Linked DNA regions of Homo sapiens: region 1 is linked to region 2. The links are contacts of gene promoters, found by promoter capture Hi-C in blood cells and fetal thymus (Javierre and others, 2016). All regions are on one chromosome and are shown on one strand. Each heading gives the region's core, a stretch centred on a gene start or on the middle of the fragment in contact. The rest is flanking DNA. Distances are from core to core; before and after follow the strand shown.

The links. The method cuts DNA at HindIII sites, captures the fragments that hold promoters and counts their contacts. A CHiCAGO score of 5 or more calls a contact.
Region 1: a fragment that was not itself captured here is called in contact with the fragment with the promoter of ZC3H6 in region 2 in 1 of 17 cell types (neutrophils); the score reaches 7.1 in neutrophils.

What each region holds. Positions count from the first base shown.
Region 1 is chr2:113,883,015-113,888,979 of GRCh38, reverse strand. The region is part of intron 1 of ACTR3-AS1 (ACTR3 antisense RNA 1); the gene reads left to right. LOC124906071 (a long non-coding RNA gene) reads left to right here. Exons shown (of 3, transcript XR_007087205.1): 1 at 1-917. Among named protein-coding and RNA genes, the nearest start is that of ACTR3, 4.1 kb to the left of the region's middle. RefSeq lists enhancers at 2,209-2,318, 2,329-2,378. The HindIII fragment of the contact is 1,600 bases long and covers 572-2,171 here.
Region 2 is chr2:112,274,347-112,280,091 of GRCh38, reverse strand. ZC3H6 (zinc finger CCCH-type containing 6) reads right to left here and starts at 4,495. Exons shown (of 12, transcript NM_198581.3): 1 at 4,066-4,495. The coding sequence starts at 4,097. RefSeq lists a silencer at 3,726-4,205 and enhancers at 4,396-4,605, 4,221-4,793. The HindIII fragment of the contact is 12,828 bases long and covers 2,846-5,745 here.

The DNA.
Region 1 (5,965 bases), core at 122-2,621, 1.6 Mb before region 2:
AATTCTCTGACTGGGCTATCGGAAATAATGCCTGAGAATGTGCATATCTAATAAGTTCCTAGTTCCACTTTAGGACCCTAGAAGGTTAGTATCTTTCCTCTCTACCAGGCTTATCTTAGGATGAACCGTTCGGGGTTTGCTGATGTGAAGCTAAAACAAAAATATTCTTTAAAAGGAGGGATGTCTTATTCAGTCCATAAGATCATCTAATGTATTAAGCTGGCTTGGGGGATGAATCGGGTGTTTCATTCATTCATTTGACAGGTAAGCATTGCTTACCTACTCTATTATGACGGGGTCTGTGCTGACTCCGAATATTCGGTGGGATGCAAAATAGTTAAGTGCTCTTGTAGAGTTTACAGATTAGCGGAAAACAGACAAATTGTGTTAAGAGCAATAGAAAGAAGAGAGCGGAGGACTCTGAGAAATGAAGGCGAGGAGTGGGAGAATGAGAGGAAGGTGGAAGGCAGGTAAGGAGTCTGACCAGCTGGTATTTAAAAGCTAAGATGGGGGGAAGAGTCTCCCAGGAGAGTGAACAGCAAGTGTCAAGGACCTGAGGCAGGAACAAGCTTGGCTTCTTCCACAAATTGAAAGAAGATCCATATGAAAGAGTCAGAGAAGATGCAATGGGAGATGAAGACTGAGAGATAAGGAAGAGTGAAACAGTGCAAGAATTTGTAGACTGCTCTAAGCATTTTAAAGTTTATCTTAAAAGCAGCTTGATAAATTAGATTTATGGTAATTAGTTTAAAAATAAAAATAAAGCAACTTGAAAGGATTTAGGCAAGAAAAAGTTGTGTCTGCTTTGTAGAGAATGGCTCCAGCAGAGTCCAGATTGAATCATACATTGTATGATATTCTGTGTTCCGGAGTTCGCAGATAGAAGTATGTGAGGGCCAGCATCCAAATGGAATCAGGTATGTGCAGAGGAGACTCACTAAAGGGCATCATCATCAATTAGTGCCCAGCATGTCTGCAGCTATTCACGAGAGAAGGCTTTTTTTAGAGGTTGTTTTCAGAGAAGTCAAACAACTGGTTGTCTCAGATTCGTTGTCGTTGGTTTCTCCACTACATTTTAGAAGATGCTAGATGGGGACTCTTTGCTGCCGCTTCTACTACCTGGTAATTAAAGTCTTTTGAGGAAGCATATGCTTGAAGATTGGCTCTGACAGAAAAGACAGATGTGGTTTAGTAGGGGTAGAATAAATGGTTGTTTCCAGCAGTTACAAGTAGTAAGTCAGGAGTGAAGAGATCCTACCAAAGAAGTTTCGAGAGCAGAGGTTAGTGCCCTCGGTCACTTGGGCAGCCCATGCCGGTGGCCCTCAAGGTAGCTGCCCACACTCTGGCCTTGCACAGTTGTCATGGAAGTAGTTAACTCAAGCAGGGTTGGAAACTAGTGCTTCGAGGTCTAGGCAGGTACTGTTATGAGTGAAGGGGGCCATGAGGAGGGTATGGCAATGTGAGAGCCCACAACCCAACAGAAGGCAACAGACAACTGTTGCCATGTGGAAATACAGCCCTGGTATTGCCAGAGCCTTTTTTCTTCCCCAAGAGAAATCTGAAATCTGCATTTTTATCTTTGGTAACTGTAATGGTTTGAATGTGTTCCCCAAAGTTCATGTGTGAGAAATATAATTTCCAGTGCAACAGTGCTGAGAGGTGGGAGCTTTAAGAGGTGATTAGGCCAGGAGGACACTGTCTTCATGAATGAATCACAGGACTGGGTGCCTGATAAAAAGGAGTTTGCCCCCGCTTCCCTCTCTCTCTTTTGCCCATGTGATGCCTTCCACCATGTTTTGACACAGCAGGGACGCCTTCACGAGATGATGGCCCTTTGATCTTGGACTTCCCAGCCTCTAAAACTATGAAAAATAATTTGTGTTCTCTATAAAGTACCCAGTCTCTGATATTCTGTAAGCAGCACAAACTAGGCTAAGATAGTAACTAATTTTTTTCTGCATGTCATATCTGACCTGTGGTCTGCCAGTTTGCATCTTTTGATTTCGGAAGCTACATGTGGTTCAGTAGTTTGCTGCCTTCAAATATGAAGCTCATGTCAGTGCTAAGTACTGTCTCTCATTTCATAGGCATGAGGAAACTGTCACAGTCTCACATAGTCAAGACTGTCCTGTGTTTGTACAGGCAGTAACTGTTAGAAGCATTTGGAAGCTTTCAGTGCTTGTTGGAAATGTCATTGGTGCTCATTCCTCATAATCTTGTCTACCCAAACACTTTGCTTGCTTAAGATCCCTTCTACTTCCTGCTTGCTGCATGCCAAATTGGTCAGCCTCTCTGCTACTGTGGTGGCCCAGCCTTCCTCAGCTGCACATAGCCTTCAGTCACACATCCGGCCAAAGCATTTCTGACCACCCTGTTTGCATATGCACCCACTCCCTGCTTACTCATCTCCAAACACAGAAGCAAAGGATGTCAGAGACAGTTCATCCTTCATTTCATATTTGTCCCTAATAGCACCTCAATTTCCTTTCAGTTCAGGTCAACCCGGTCCTTGGTTCTTACCCATTTCCAAACCTGTTCCGAAACTTTCAAGCATTTGTGAGTCTTGCAGTATCCTTCTCCTGTGGCTCAAGTTAGCCACAGCAAGTTCCCATTACTTGCATCAAATTTGAGAAGCCTTAGTGGTACAGAAGCCCATAGAGTTTAAGTGAGTTTTCCCAATATCTTTTTCTTTTTTTTTTTGAGATGGAATCTTGCTCTGTCGCCCAGGCTGGAGTGCAGTGTAGTGCGATCTCGGCTCACTGCAAGCTCTGCCTCCTGGGTTCATGCCATTCTCCTACCTCAGCCTCCTGAGTAGCTGGGACTACAGGCGCCCGCCACCATACCCGGCTAATTTTTTTTTTTTTTTTTTGTATTTTTTGTAGAGACGGGGTTTCACTGTGTTAGCCAGGATGGTCTCAATCTCCTGACCTCGTGATCTGCCCGCCTCGGCCTCCCAAAGTGCTGGGATTACAGGTGTGAGCCACCACTCCCGGCCCCCAATATGTTAAAGAAACTAAGGAACAGAAGTCCAAGTCAAAATCCAGTTCTTACGCCTTTTGGGGGGCTCTTTAATTGTAACGACAAATTAGCAAATTGTCTTTGGATCTTAAAAAGTGTCCAGGAAATTTATGTCACTCAATTTCCATTATTTTAAGATGAGAAATAGTATTTTAAAAATCAACTTAGGTACGTACTACAGGGCTGACTGTTTGCAAATTGGCAGATGAATCAGATTCACAGAGAGCCTTAATTCAGAGCAGGTAAGTTGTAAAAGTACCCCAAGCAGCCTAGTGGTCAGAGGGGAGGGACTGTGAAAACTGTCTTCTCTCTTCTCAAGTTGTGTGATCTTAGCAACTAACTTCTTATGTAGAGAGAGCACTGATTTTAGACTCAAGAGACTTGAATTGAGTATGAACTCTTTCACTTACTCTGTTTCTTCATCTATAAAATTCACAGGAATATTTAACCTATAGGGTTGTTGTAAAGCTTGAATTTGGTAAGAAGCCTATTATAAATTACAGAGTGACCTTATTATGGACAGATCAAGAGGAATATGGTTTAATTATAAAGTAATCACTGACTTAGTACTTAAACATACAAAAGGAAACACACACTGGTCCTCCTCTTCACAGATGTTATCTTGGGGCCCATGTGCCTACTCTTTTAATGCTACCATTGTGCAAAATATTTTTAGAAGCTCTTCTTTAGACTTGCCTTCAAAGCCTACAGCACATTGTTTTAAACATCTTCACTGGTGGCAGATCTTGCCCTCTGTGAGTAGATTTCATTTTGAGGATTAGCCAAAAGTCATTTCTTCAGAGCCAAGTCCAGTAAACAAATGGCTTATCAACTAGGGTTGTTTTTTATCAAAAGTTTTATGTGACTATAAGTAAAACTGGTTTTCTTATGTGACTTATAAACTGCCTCTAGATGAAGTTCTAGATTATTTTATTCAGTGGCTACATCCCTGGGGGCTATAGACTGAATGTCTATGTTCGCTCACTCTCCAACCAATTTGTGTGTTGAAAATTTAACCCCCAGGGTGATGGTATTAGGAAGTGGGGCCTTTGGAAAGTGATTAGGTCATGAGGGCAGACCCCCACATGAATGGGATTAGTTCTCTTTTAAAAGAGACCTCAAAAAACTGCCTCACCCTTTCCACCATGTGAGGACACAAGAAGACAGCCATCTATCAAATGGAAAGCAGCCCTTCACCAAAGGTGGATCTGCTCACATCTTGATCTTGGACTTCTCAGCTTGCAGAACTATGAGAAATAAATTTATATTGTGTTTGATTGTTTGTTTTTTGAGGTGGAGTCTCACTTGTCCCCCAGGCTGGAGTGCAGTGGCTCAATCTTGGCTCACTGCAACCTCTGCCTTCCGGGTTCAAGCAATTCTCCTGCCTCAGCCTCCCGAGTAGCTGGGACAACAGGCGCATGCCACGAAGCCCTGCTAATTTTTGTATTTTTGGTAGAGACAAGGTTTCACCATGTTGACCAGGCTGGTCTCAAACTCCTGAGCTCAAGTGATGTGCCTGCCTCGGCCTCCCAAAGTGCTGGGATTACAAGCGTGAGCCACCACACCCGGCCAAATTTCTATTTTTTACAAAGCCTAAATTTGTGTTGTTTATAAATAAATTGTTTATGGATAAGGGATTGAATATCCCTTATCTAAAATGCTTAGGACTACAGATATTTAAGATTTTGGATTTTTTCAGATTTGGGAGTATGCACATATACAAAATGAAACATCTTGGGGATGAGACCCATGGGTAAACACAAAATTCATTTATATTTCATATATGCCTTATATGCATAGCCTGAAGGTAATTTTATACAATATTTTTAATTTGTGCATGAAACAAAGTTTGTATTTACGTGTATTTACATGTAGAATTTTCCATTTGTGGTGTCATGTCAGTGTTCAGAAGGTTTCAGATTTTGGAACGTTTTGGATTTTGGATTTTCAGATTAGGGATGCTCCACTAGGGATGCTTTGTTATAGCAGCCTGAAGAAGCCAAGATGCTGGGATAAAAATAGTCATTATATGCTTGATTTCATTGAAAATATATTTCTTTTTTCGTTTTTTTTTTTGAGACAGAGTCTTGCCCTGTCGCCCAGGCTGGAGTGCAGTGGCGTTTTCTCGGCTCACTGCAAGCTCCACCTCCTGGATTCAAGCGATTCTCCTGCCTCAGCCTCTCAAGTAGCTGGGATTATAGACGTGTACCACCACACCCGGCTAATTTTTGTATTTTTAGTAGAGATGGGGTTTCACCATGTTGGCCAGGATGGTCTTGAACTCCTGACCTCAAATGATCCACCCGCCTCGGCTTCCCAAAGTGCTGAGATTACAGGCGTGAGCCACCGCACCCGGCCTGAAAATATATCTCAGATAATATCTGTACAACATTTGAAATGAGGTGAGATTCTGTGGGATAAGATCCTAATCCCCTCACTGCCTGTAAAGAATGAATAGTTTAATTAAATTTTGACTCTAATTTAAAGAAAAGTTACGCCCTGTCTGCCCCCACCCCGCCCCCCCAAACACACACACACACACTTGCGCAAACATATACACCTTTTCTTATATATAAAAACAGATTCTAGATGGATGACAAATCTCCAGTATACAATAAAATCCATACTCCTTATTGGGACCTACAAAGCCCTCCATGTTCTGGTGCCCACCTCAGTGTTCAGCTTGTCTCATCTTCACCCTGTTCCATGAAGCCACATTAACCTTCTTGTTGCTGTTCACACCCACCAGGCTGTTCCCACCTGTGTCCACTCCCCGGACTTCTCCACCAGTCATCAATTAATCCTGAATCACTTGCCTCCTCAGAGAAGCCTTTCCTGACCTGCCAGTGTAAAGTAGCCTGTCTCACTGTCTTCCCCCGTCACCAAGTATTAATTATCTGGGGGAAATGTCTTATTTACTTATTGGTTTGTTTGTTTCTTATCAACT
Region 2 (5,745 bases), core at 3,246-5,745:
CTTCATTTCACAAATGAAAAAAATAATGAAAAGGGGAAGAGCATTAACCCAAGTTAGAAGATCAGGATCAGTACCAAGGTTTTATTCAAAATGAAGGGCTCTCTCTCAAATGTAGCACATTACAATTCCAAACTACTCAAGGATTAAAGCCCAGAACTTATTCCATTACTTTGCTGTGCAAACTTAATGAAGAGTGAAGATAATATTGCAAGTAGGAAAATAATATTGCAAGACTGAAAATAATAATACCTGGGTTCTTATCTAGGTTGTATTTATGAGATCTCAGACAATTCACTGAACCTTGTAATGCTACCTTAATTAACTACCACATGGGATTAATGTGAGAATCAAATGAAAGCCCTGTTGCAAATGAAAAGTATAATCATCTTTTCCATCCTCATCCTTTCAGGTTCTCCAGTGCAGTCTCTTAGCAAGTTTTCAATCTATATGGGGGGCCATAAACCACTTGCAATTCTGACTAGTTGGAGTTTTGTTGTTCTTGTAGTACAGGACAGAAAGCTGCGAGGGAAGGGTGGGGAGGTTGTTTATGTATTATAAACCTCCTCCCAAAGGGGAGTATTATCCATATCACCTATCAGTTAAAGACTCTTTGAGACTCACAAGCTCTTAAAAGGTTCATGCTAAAAAATTATCTTTTTCCCCAGTACAAGCCCTACAAAACCTTTTACCATTAGTATATTTCAGAAAATTCTGTAACAATTACTTGGGTTATATTTATCTTTTCCTACTCTACTACAGATGTGTCCAAAGCAGGGACTCATAGTATTTCGTCTTCAGGAGTTGTGAATTGTTTTAATTGGGTCAACATCCAGTTGAAATATAAAACTGAGCGGCTGGAGTCGTGCCTGAGAGAACTGAATGAAAAAGAACTGAACGACGAGAGACCAGAATTATACCTCCCTCTGATTTCCCTAAATCCCTAAAGACCTTTAGAAACTAGGCTCTGGGCTTATGCAAAAGTCCTCTACTACATTCTACATAGCCACAAGTAGAATTAGAAGTATTTTTATATTAATAACATCTTATAAAATACAATGTTTTAACTCCAGGTGTGAAAATATTTAAAGGAAAGTACACTAAATGGATTTTTTTTAAATTATTCATTTGGCAAACAATCTTGTGCAAAATGTTCACTATATAACATGTACAAGGCCAGGCGTGGTGGCTCACGCCTGTAATCCCAACACTCTGGGAGGCTGAAATGGGAGGATGGCTGGAGCCCAGGAGTTCAAGACCAGCCTAGGCATATAGCGAGACTCTATTTCTTTAAACGAGAAAAAAATTATGCATTCTGTGAATTCCATTTACATTTAGAATCTCATTCTCATAAACAGTAATATTTTAATTTGTATAAAATCAAAGCAATTGTAAATATAAATCATAGGCTTCATTTTTTTTCCTGCATACACAATATGCCTTAATTTTTGAAAATGTTATAAAAAGAATATCCTTGGCTGGGCACAGTGGCTCACCCCTGTAATCCCAAAACTTTGGGAGGCCAAGGCTGGTGGATCACTTGAGGTCAGGAGTTCAAGACCAGCCTGTCCAACATGATGAAACGTGGTCTCTACTAAAAATACAAAAAATTAGCCAGGTGTGGTGGCGGGTGCCTGTAATCCCAGCTACTCAGGAGGCTGAGGCAGGAGAATGGTGTGAAGGCGGGAAGTGGAGCTTGCAGTGAGCTGAGACAGTGCCACTGCACTCCAGCCTGGGCGACAGAGCGAGACTCCGTCTCAAAAAAATAAAATAAATAAAATAAAATCCTTGAGACAAAGCCTAGCTCCATATACCAAGTTTCATATATTTTTCTCCACTTAATTCACAGAAACTTTTATAACAGCATAAAATAGCTATTATATGGAAAGATACAGTATTTTGGAAGCCCGCAGATTAGTCCATTTTTTCCCCAAATTTCTTAAGAATTTCCCAGGGAGCCTATGAAAAATACCCTAGAGATTCTGATTCAGTTGCTCTGGGCAGAACAAAAATTTATTCCCCAAAGTGATTCTGATGATTAACTATCATTGGGAAACACTGATCGAGTATAGCGGTTCTCAATTTGGCACATATTAGAATTTCCTGGGGAGCTTTTAGAACTCTTAAAACCCAGGCTGAGGTCCAGACCAACAGAAATAGCGCCAATACTTTAAAGAAAAAAAGTTCCCCAGGGAAGGTTTAGAACCATTGATCTGATCTTGTAGAATTTCTCCTGACTTCTAGTTCACTTTGTTTTTGATGTAGTTGTTTTGTTTTTCATGTGGGTTGACAAAAAAAGCATGAAAAAAAAAAACCATCTCCTTCATCTCAGCACAATGATGCCACTTAACAATTGGCTAAGTTAAAGTGGAGCTAACCTTTTTGTTTCAGAAATCACTAGAAAATACTTTTAGTCCGAATTTTAAATAAAATAGACTAATCTTAATCTTTAGCTCCTACTACCAACCTATTAACATATCTTACAAATAATTCTTTAAAGTTTTCTAACCTCTAAACCAGTATTTTAAAATTTCAAATTCTTTAAAAGGTCTGTCATCACAGTTCCTTACCAGCAAAATTATTTTGATACTTGAATTTGATGGCATTGTTTTTTCATGATGTACAATACATAACTCCATATATAGAAGTTACTTTGTGCACTAAGAGAGGGGAACAGATATTCTTCCATATTAAAAAAAAAAAGGATTTTAGGCTCCATTAGCAAAACCCCATCATTGGTTTGTCCATACCTCAAGAGCAAGGTATTAGTCAACCCATTCTAAGAATTTCCTTTTTAATACAAAAGATAACGTTAAAAAAATCATTAAAAATGTGCCAAGTGCAAGCTTATCATTTTTAAAAGTGCATTTTACTTTCCAAAAATTTTTACACTTTGATTGACGTGCCCTCTGGGAATCTACTTTTATTATTACAATACTGAAGTTGTTGAAATACCATTTTTATCCCTCTCAAGATTGCTAGGTATTTAGATATTTCAAATTTCAGCAGTGTTTGTGATTTTTGCTTCTGGGTTTTAAAAAACGTGTTTAGGATGCTTTACCAAGCCGATCACATTACTACAGATAAAACTTCAGCAATGTATATAGTCTATAGTAAAACGTATATTTTTTCTTACTTCTATTCACAAAGGAGTAATTGTGAGGTTCTAGATTTTCAAATTAATATTCTAAGTAAGAATCAGATGCAATGGATTTTGTTTCAGTAAGTTTAATGAATGAAAGCCCCCCTTTCGCATTATTAAAGATATATACGAATGAAAATTTGAATTATAACCAAAATTTAAGTATGCTACAGTATACTTTGTAAATGTCCCCAAACTCGAATGGAAACAAGAATGTGCCTCTTAAGGCACAGAGCAAAAAATAAAAAATCAGAATCTCAATATTCAAGTGATACACACCATCTAGAAAATTGGGCTAGCCGGAATAATCCATGGAGTTTTTACGTTAGGGTAAAACTGTGCTAAACTAAGTTTCTGCAAAGCCTAAGTATTTTGTGTTAACATATTAAACTTGAAACTTGCCATCTCAAATTCCAAGGGATAAGACTGTATACAACAGATGGCCTTTTGGTGCTGCTTAAAACTTCCCTGAAAACCAAATGTTTATTTTTTTAGAGGTGTTCTCGGTTCTCGGGAAGCAGTCAAATATCAAAACACCCATTCCTGAAAATTCCTGGCTGGTCCTATCTGGCCGGGAGCACCGACACCTGGACGGGCAGAAGCAGGACCTCAGCACCGAGCCGGGACGCTGAGAGCCGCCCGGCGCACACGGAGCCCGCCCGGGGGGCGGGGGGCTCGCACGTGCCCGGCCGGGGGCGGGGCCGGCGCTGGCGAGCAGCGACCCCGGCTCGGGGAGGCGGGCGCGGCCGGGCCGACCTCCCCCGCGGCCGCGATCCAGCAGTTTACATAAGAGTGCGCGTCATGGAACTGACGGAGCCACACAGAGACGTCTAGGTCATGCAGGAGGCGCCCGGCCCCGGCCCGCTCCCGCCGCCCCAGACCCCTCCTCTCATCCGACAGAAAGACAGACAAGAAGGGTTCCCGACCTGTCGTGCCCTGCATGTTCAGAGTCTGTCATGTTTGGTCAAGAACGGGGCGGGGCTGGAGGGCAGGTCTGCGAGGCCGGCGGCGGCGGGGCGCGGGGAAGACCCCCCGCGCCGCCTGCGGGAACCTGCTCCCGGCCGCCGCCGACAGGTGACGAAGTGGTAAAAACTCACGGTTACTAGTGAGCGACACAGACACAGACTTTCCAGTCTATTAACAACCACGCCAGAGAGATGGGGCTCTAACTGCAAACACTGGGCAACGGCCCCGCGCTGCCGGCGCTGCCGCTCTAGTCTCTATTCGCCGCCGGTGGCTGTGGCGTGGGAGCGGGCGGGCGGCGTGCAGCGACGCGGGGATTTGGACAGTGGCCGTAACGGTGATTTCTCCTCACCAACATGGCGGCACCCGAAACAGGCGGCTCGAGAAAATGGCGCCGGCCGCAACACCTTGCCCGGGACTAAAGGGCAAGAGAGATTCCTCCGCGAGCCGCGGCCCTTGCCCAGCCCGCCGGGGCCGAGCGCGTTGACCATTGGAGGAGAGTGCCCGTCAATCACCTGCAGGGGCGGGTCTTCGCCCTTCTCTGTGCAGCGGCGGAGGCGGCAGCCTAGTGGCGGGGCCGGGCGGCGAGAGACGCGGCCGGATGGCTCCTCGAGTGTCTGCAGGAGGGGGAGGCAGCCCACGGGACCTACGAGGGCCACCAGCGCTTCTGCTCCCGGCGCAGTACGGGCCGCGGTTTTTCCTGCGAGACGCCCGCCGCCCGAGGAGTTCCAGACGCACCAAGCAAACGGGCCCCAAAACCGTTAGCCGAGGCGGGCAGGGGTGGGATAACAAAGAACAAGGCGGCTGTAGAGTCCTTAAATTTTTTTGTGAAAACCTTTGTTCTTGTAATAATAGGGAAATGCAGTTTCTCCTTCACAGTTGTAGCAAGTATCTGTTTTTGTAACGTTTAGTGTTCAGAATCATGTTTTAAGGAAAATAGCTTGCCATGCAGTTTTTTCTTGTATTTGCTGTTAAATTTACCCAATTATTACTTAAATAGGAATAGCTATTGAAATAATTATATAAACGTTACTTTATTTCGTAATAATATTAACATGTAAAATGTATGCGAGTATTTTATAAATACTATTAGGCATGCCTTTTTTTTTTTTTTTTTTTTTTTTTTTTTTTTTTTTTTCTGAGATGGAGTCTCCTCTGTCGCCCAGGCTGGAGTGCAGTGTCGCGCTCTCGGCTCACTGCAACCTCTGCCTCCTGGGTTCAAGCAATTTTCCTGCCTCAGCCTCCCGAGTAGCTGGGACTGCAGGCACGCGCCACCACGCCTGGCTAATTTTTGTATTTTTAGTAGAGATGGGGTTTCCCCATTTTGGCCAGGCTGGTCTCGAACTCCTGACTTCAGGTGATCCGCCCTCCTGGGTCTCCCAAAGTGCTGGGGTTACAGCCGTGAGCCACCGCGCCCGACCATGCATGAGTTTTTTATACTTATGAAGTGACCTTAAAAAATTTTTAAATGACAAGTCAGTGTTTTGGCCTATTTAATATATTAGTCCTGAAGGAAAGTTCCTTGCTTTTTACTAAAATGATAGACTCAATGATTAATCCAAATATCTGACTTAATTTGTCTTTCCTTAATAATACATTTTACTAATACATAAATGGAATGCATTCAAAAACAATTGCAATGA